2 separate regions of the Homo sapiens genome follow, and region 1 is linked to region 2. Evidence: promoter capture Hi-C in 16 types of primary human blood cells and fetal thymus (Javierre and others, 2016). All regions are on one chromosome and are shown on one strand. Each heading gives the region's core, a stretch centred on a gene start or on the middle of the fragment in contact. The rest is flanking DNA. Distances are from core to core; before and after follow the strand shown. Region 1 has its middle 150 kb from the start of DDHD1-DT. Region 2 holds the start of GNPNAT1 (glucosamine-phosphate N-acetyltransferase 1).

Evidence for each region. The method cuts DNA at HindIII sites, captures the fragments that hold promoters and counts their contacts. A CHiCAGO score of 5 or more calls a contact.
Region 1: a fragment that was not itself captured here is called in contact with the fragment with the promoter of GNPNAT1 in region 2 in 3 of 17 cell types (erythroblasts, M2 macrophages and fetal thymus); the score reaches 8.9 in erythroblasts.

The regions. Positions count from the first base shown.
Region 1 is chr14:53,305,929-53,310,050 of GRCh38, reverse strand. No RefSeq gene overlaps it. Among named protein-coding and RNA genes, the nearest start is that of DDHD1-DT, 150 kb to the right of the region's middle. RefSeq lists an enhancer at 3,506-3,800. The HindIII fragment of the contact is 2,546 bases long and covers 478-3,023 here.
Region 2 is chr14:52,789,871-52,793,635 of GRCh38, reverse strand. GNPNAT1 (glucosamine-phosphate N-acetyltransferase 1) reads left to right here and starts at 2,029. Exons shown (of 6, transcript NM_198066.4): 1 at 2,029-2,208. It overlaps LOC105370500 (a long non-coding RNA gene), which reads right to left and starts at 1,848. Exons shown (of 3, transcript XR_943867.3): 1 at 1,310-1,848. RefSeq lists enhancers at 1,407-1,921, 1,922-2,435, 2,543-2,632, 2,713-2,802 and silencers at 1,833-2,052, 2,153-2,232. The HindIII fragment of the contact is 20,059 bases long and covers 1-3,765 here.

The sequences.
Region 1 (4,122 bases), core at 501-3,000, 520 kb before region 2:
TGGTATTAGGGTGATGTATTGGTCTGTTTCCATGCTGCTGATAAAGACATACCTGAGACTGGGCAATTTACAAAATAAACAGGTTTAATGGACTACAGTTCCACATGGCTGGGTAGGCCTCACAATCATGGTGGAAGGCAAGGAGGAGCAAGTCATGTCTTAAATGGATGGCAGCAGGGAAAGAGAACTTGTGCAGGGAAACCTCTTTCCCATGTGAAAGACCTACCCCATGATTCAATTACTTCCCACCAGGTCCTCCCACAACACATGGGAATTCAAGATGAGATTTGGGTGGCAACACAGCCAAACCATATCATTTCACCCCTGGCCCCTCCCAAATCTCATGTCCTCACATTTCAAGACCAATGATGGCTTCCCAACAGTCCCCTAAAGTCTTAACTCATTTCAGCATTAACTCAAAAGTCCACAGTCAAAAGTCTCATCTGAGAAAAGGCAAGTCCCTTCCACCTATAAGCTTGTAAAATTAAAAGCATGTTAATTACTTCCTAGATACAACAGGGGTACAGGCATTGGGCAAATACAGCCATTCCAAGTGGGAAAGATTGACCAAAACAATGTTAACAGATGTTGGCACGGATGTGGTGAAAAGGCAACACTTTTATACTTCTGGTGGGTATGTAAACTGGTACAAACACTATCGAAAATAGTATGGGGATTCCTTAAAGAACTAAAAGTAGAACTACAATTTGATCCAGCAGTCCCACTACTGGGTATCTACCCAGAGGAAAATAAGTTATTATATGAAAAAACACACTTGCACACACGTTTATAGCAGCACAATTCTCAATTGCAAAAACATGAAAGCAACCAACAAGTGGATAAAGAAAATGTGAGATACATACATACACACACACACACACACACACACACACACACACCATGGAATACTACTGAGCCATAAAAAGGAATGAAATAATGGCATTTGTAGCAACCTGGATGGAGTTGGAGACCATTATTCTAAATGAAGTAACTCGGAAATGGAAAACCAAAAGTCACATGTTTTCATTTATAAGTGGAAGCTAAGCTATGAGGACCCAAACACCTAAGAATAAAATAATGGATTCTGGGGACTCAGGGTGAAGCGTGGGAGGGGGGTAAGGGATAAAAGACTACAAATAGGGTGCAGTGTACACTGCTCAGGTGTACCAAAATCTCAGAATCACCACTGAAGAACTTTTCCATGCAACCAAACACCACCTGTTCCCCAAAAAAAACTATTGAAATTAATTAAATAAATAAATAAATAAATACCTATAGAAGCCCTAAAAACTAAAAGGTTACAAGACTACTACTTCCCATATATACAATGTTAACACATAAAATCGGTATAAAGAAATTAATAAAGGTAATTTTTCTCAGAATGACCATTTTGATAAGTTTTTTCATATATCAAATTATTTCCAAAATATTTTTGGTACCACTGCTTGAGTACAGGCTTAATCTGCCTACTTGATAACCCAATATTATATATACAGGTAGGCAGATGAATGAAAAGAATGAAAAAAGAGGTAGATGAGAGATAGACATATAGATGAATAGGGGCTATATTTTAACTGCTCACATAATATTTCAAAGTCTATTTAAATGAAGATACGAGATTAATTAGAATGTTATCTATATTCCTCAAAAATGACTCTTCTTCTTGCAAAGGTAGATTATGGTATTCTAAAACTTAAAAGGACTACAGAAATCATCATGCCAACCACTTTCCAGATGAGGAAACTTAGGCTAAAAAGATAAAAGCCAGGATCACACAGTTGGTGAGTGCCAGAATGAAACCAGATCCTAAATGTCCTGCTATCTAGCAAAGCAGTTCTCTACAATACAATCCCACCTTCCTTGATAATACTAAGTTGCTTAGCAAACAAGATCTTCATAAATGTTGCAAGGATAAATTTCCTTTCAGTCTGCCCGAAGCAAATAACCACAATTTGCTTAGTATTAGTAAAACTCAGATCATCTAGGCATTGTCACCCCTTCAAGTTGCCCTCAGAGTGGGACAGTCAACTTGGAACAAAGTTTGACTTAACACAAGTTTCCCAGGTCTGAGAAATATGGCAAGAGGTGGGATTTATTGTTGTTGTTGCTTATCAAAACAGTGAGAAATGGCATGTTAATCAGCGAAGGACAAATTGTGGCTGTCATTTCCTTTTTCTCTAAAAGGTAAATATGTATAGACTGCAAATCATGTCCAGGAGAACTTATTTCTCACATCCCCATCCATCAGTTTGCTCTCAACTGCTCTCAACAAAGTGAGGAACCAGCTTTAAAATAGCTCTGAAATGGAAGGCTACTCTAGGTATGAAATATCCCATGGACCAAACCCAATAATCTCACTTCTCTTGAGTGCTCTCTTATTCTGACATCCAGCATGGTCACAAATAGCTTTTAAAACTGGACCAGGTACAGAAACCAGTCAAAGAAAATAAGAGGATAAAATTTGGAGAAGCCCGTCATGGATTTTAGCTTCCAAGCATATCACCAAAACTGTAATGTTCAACAACTTAAGCAGACATTCTCAGTGACTTCAGTTGACTTCAATGAATTCTGTTTCAGTCCATTTACCACAAAACAGTATGCCAAGGAAGGGACCCCACAGAGAGGAACTTCTCCTATCTAGTCATACCCTACCAACTCAGGTCTGAGGTCCTGATACTAAAAAGCTAAGTAACAAAGAAAATAATTTTTGTGCCTCTGAAGCCATTTTTCGAGGTGAGATGTTTCGCTCCTAGCCAAGCAAAGCTGCAGAATCTGTAGAATGTTGTCTTGCTCCCTCCTTGTCACCAGCCTGCCCTTTAACCCACCACTGAATGCCCTTTTTCTGCTCCAAGACAGCTATTGAATCACCACATTATACTCCCTGACCCTGCGGGGCCATGGTACAATATCAGAATGTCAAACTGGGTCTGAAAAGGGCTTTGTGTGGGATGAGACAAGACTCTAAGGATAGTAGAGCTGCTGAATCACTCAGGATCTGACCACAAATAGTGCTACGCTAAGCTTGCTGGGTAAAACTGCTGCCAGAAGCCCCTGTTAAATTTCTGGGCTAATTATGGAGGGTGGGAGGGTGACCTTGGAGGCAAGTTGTACTTAACACAGAGACCAGGAAGCCTAAGGGAAGAAACCCAAGTTGTACATCCTCATAAATACAATTTAAAATTCTCTAATTTAATAAAAGCATGCGATCCTACGACAAGGTAGTTTTCCTTAGGAGCAGGTGCACTGCAATTTTTTTTTTAATTTTCATATTAAATCTTCAGAGAGTTACACGGTAGATGGCAGCCTGGAAATACGCTGATGTATCCTGGCAGAATTTCAGACATAATGATTTTTTTTTCCTCTGTAAATCTTCCATCAGTGGGAAGGAAAGCCCTGCCAAAACTGAGAAACCCAAGCTGGAGGCAGCGAGGCTCCCACTCAGAGCACGGCGACATGCCAAGGCTTTCAAGGCCAAATCGGAAACAACCACGTTGAGTTCATTAAAACGACTGAATGATCAAAGTCATGCAAGCCTTCACAAAGGCAAAAATTAATCTGTTTAATACTTGGCTAAATTCTCAAGTGCTAAAGTAAATTTGAAACGAAATTCATCAAACTCCCCCTCTTCCTGTGGAAAAATCCTTTGAGTTCCTCAGAGTGCCCAGCAGATGGCAGAAGCGGTCTTTGTTTCAATCCATGGGCCTCAGCTACCGCGCCATGCCCAAAATTAACGGGAATAGGTACACCTGGGTATAGTTGTATATCTGAATGTGAAAATACACTTTCAGGATATCAGGAATTATATTCCAGTATGGCTAGGGTTATTCTCAGTTATCAATCTCGAGGGAGGAAACGTCCCCAGGAAGTGGTACCAAAAGATGACTCTTGCACATCAATGAAAAGGCCTGTGGAAGGACGACAGTCCAACTACTGGAACCCTGTTTTTATATCTCTCAGGAGCCTCCCACCATGCCCACCCCTCATCTCCCTCCCATTTCCTACTCCTTAAAGACTTGCATACACATTCCTGAGTCTTCAGCAACCTGTGTCCTCGCCACCCAGGTGAAGAAGCTGGGTATGTGCAGGATATTCCCTACTGCAACAATGCCTCCTCAGCCTGCC
Region 2 (3,765 bases), core at 780-3,279:
GGCAAAGAAAGGGGTTAACTGTACTGGCCAGAGTAATCGACCTTGTCTATTAAGGAGAAATTGGGTTCTTATGGCCCAATGTGGGTAAGGAGGAGTATATGTGGAAAGTATGAGATCTCTGGGGGTACCTCTTACAAGCCTTGTGTTCTGTGATTTTAGAATTGCTTATGTTTCACTTTTTGCTAATTTATAAAACATACAGCAGTTTGTTGTACAGGATAAACTCACTGAAAACATTTGACCAGAAGTCTGATAAGAAAAACGGGGAGGGCCATATGCTTAAGATTAGTGGTGTGTACATAAGCATTTTTTTAAATTTTTGTTTGTTTTGAGACAGGGTCTTGCTCTGTGGCCCAGACTGGAGTGCAGTCTTGCAATCATGGCTCACAGCAGCCTCTGCCTCCCGGGCTCAGGTTATCCTCCTACCTCAGCCTCCTGAGTAGATGGGACTACAGGCACATGCCACCATGCCTGCCTAATTTTCAGTATTTTTTTTTGTAGAGACAGGTTTTTACCATGTTGCACAGACTGGTCTCAAACTCCTGGGCTCAAGAGATCCACTTGCTTAGGCCTCCCAAAATGTTGGAATTACAGGTGTGAGCCACTACGCCCAGCCATGAGTGTTTATTTTATTTATGCCTTACATATTCTTTTTTTTTTTTTTTTTTTTTTTAGAGACAGGGTCTTGCTCTATTGTCCAGGCTGGATTCAACCTTGTGGGCTCAAGTGATCCTCCTGCCTCAGCCTCTGGAGTAGCTGGGACTACGGATGCATACCACCACATTCTGCTCATGCCCTATATATTCTTTTGTATGTATGGGTGTAAAAACAGAGATAAAAACAGAGATATGGATGCCATCAACTCACTGATGTTTGAAGTTCTGAGAAAGCATAAATCAGTAAAGGAGTTAACTGAAATTTAAATCTCACAAATGAGCAAAAAATATGATTTCTGGTATATGATCTATGGGGTTCTTTGAATACTATTGCTTAAGAATAAAATACTTTGCGATTTCAATAAATTGAAAATTATGGTACAAGGCAAGGAAGGGGAGCTACTAGCTATGAGACTTTTGTAAATTATGTAACATCTCTGAACCTCTGTTTCCTCATCTGTTAAAATAGGGACAAAGTGCTACTTAGGTAAGACACTTCAGAAATGGGGCTCTGAAAAAAGTCACTTTTCTTCTCCTAACGAAAGGTTTCTAAACCTCAGCACTCCAGACATTTCAGGCCAGGTAATTCTTTGTTGTGCGGCGCTGTCCTGCGCACTGTAAGGCGTGAAGCAGTATTCCCGGCCTCTACTCACCTGTGCCCTCCACCATCTGTAGATTCCAATGACATCTCACCCCAGATGAGAGGCTGAAAATGATTCATACATTGCCAAATGTCTCCTGGGAGGCAAAACTGTTGCAGTGGAGAACCGCTGTCCTAACCCCATGTTCATCCAATAAAGGGTTTGAGGGACTGAGAAATGAAACAATAGTCCCGAAGGAGTAGAATGCAGTGGCCCCAACTCCTAGTTTCATGAAGGCAGGAACTGTGACTCAGAGGCCTGGGGATGCGGAGCTCTGAACTGCCAGCTGGTAGGAAAAGTCCTAATTAATGGATTGAATCATGAAGGGAGGGCAACAAGGAACAAATGGAGAGGGCCAGTGGCCGAGCCTTCGGTCTCAGGATCAAAGAGGCCCACACTGGTCACCACTTACGCTGCTGGGCTGACTGCTAGGTAGACGTATCTGCAGATAAACCGAGACAATGACGCGGTGGGAAAGGCCTTGGGGAGCGAGGAGGAGGAGCCGGGAGAGGCCAGCTTTGGTCCGGCGGCCACCGCCCCAGGCGCCGCGACTCGAGCCTCAGGCCCCGCCCCTCGCCCTCCTGGTCCCGCCCCCGCTCTCCGAGCCCCGCCCCTCGCCCTCCTGGTCCCGCCCCCGCTCTCCGGGCCCCGCCCCTCGCTCTCCGGGCCTGGGCGGGTGGCGCCTTGGCCTCCGCCTCCGCTCGCCTGCGCGCGGCCCTGCGTGAGGGGGCAGAGGCGAGGTGGAGGCGTTGGCGCTGCCACGTCTGGGCCGCGGTTCCCAACTGTGGCGCGGGCGGTGGAGGAGGAGGTGGGGCTGGCGCTGAAGCCGGATCCGGATCCGGTGCTGTGCACACTGGTGGGGGAGAGTCCGACGCGCCTGGCTAGGAGCGCCGACCGCAGGGCCTCTACGGGTGAGGAGGGACCGGGGCCGGGGCGCGAGAGCAGGACCGTGTGTCCTGGGGGCTGGGGCGGGCCTGCCCTCAGGTTTATCTAACAGGTGTGTCTGGTGCCCCGGCCAGGCCCCCGGGGGTGTTGTGTGGAGGAGCTGGGCGTTAATCCTCGCCAGCTGGGTGCACATGGTGTGGAGCGCGGTTCCCAGGAAGTTGAACGCACGCGCGCCTGGAGCAGAGGTTAAGGATGATGGCCAGCGGTCCGGCCATACGCTGGTCTTGGCCTGGCAGGGCTGGAACTGGGACTGGGGTCGGAACTTCGCTCCCCAGACTTTGGCGTGGGAAATGAGACAGTTGGTCGCGCTCTCTGCAGCCATCGGTTTTGAATGGGCACGAACGTCCCAGGCCCCTTCTCTTCTCCCATTCCCGGGCGCATCCCACGGTGGTCGGAGCCATTGAGGCAGCTGCTCCGAAGACCACCTCCGCACCGAGTAGGTCGGCGCTTTCCCCAGGGTACAGAGGGACATTCTTTGTCTCTTTTTCCTAGGCTCCTACCCCTAGAAATACCGAGTACTGTACTGTGATTTCTGTTGCGGGAGCTGATGTTTATGTAAGCCAAACTAATTTAAAATTTTCATACAAAATTGAACGGGCGATTATAGGATTCGTTTTGTTAGGATAATCCCTCATGAACGAATCCTAGAATGGATCTTAAGAAATTAATTTAGGCAGGATTTGCTAAATAGGGGAGAGAGCGCTAGCTGTATGGTATGATGATGTAAAGATTGGGGTCTGTTGAGGATGGTAATCGAGCTCAAGATGCGAAAACGAGGATTCTAGCCCCAAGTCACTTACTTGCTGTGTTACCTAAGGGGCAAGTCTTGGGAGTTCCAGGTGCTCCAGCTTCCTCATCGGTAGACTGGGAATAACGCCTAGATTGTAAAGGTCAAACTATCAGAAAATACTTTTGAACATTCATGCAGTTACACAATTTAATAAATATGGCCAGGTGTGTTAAAAATCTTTAACGGAATAGATTCAGAATGGATTCTTGTTATCGAAATTGTTATAAAATGAATATAAAGGAATCCGAAGTCCGCCCCTCCCCCATTCACCTGTACTTAGAAGGTTCCCCAGGAGCTCTTGAGAAATACATAGGCTGGTTTAGATTTGGCCTTAGATTGTATTTTTTAAAATTTGTAGATCGACTTTTAAAATCTTCATCTCCGGTGTCTATTACTTGTTGCTCTCCGTTGGTTGCTTCTAGCAGCAGCCTCTCTCCCCATTCGTATTCCAACCTGATACAGAGGCTCAGACGCCAAATAGTTGAAGTTTTGTTTAAAAAATATTCAATTGAGTGAAAAAATATTCAACTGATGTGATGACTAGTAAAAATGAATTTGGTGTATGCTTTCCGCGATATTGTGGCAGTTTGGGAATTTTTTTTTTTTTTTTTTTTTTTGTCCTTCTGGATTTTCTGAAATGTGACCTACAGGTAAGTCTTATTCGTTATTCATTCACTAGGCATTATTGGGCTAGGGTTAGGCTTAAACGGGTCTTCTAAACGCCTGCTAATTT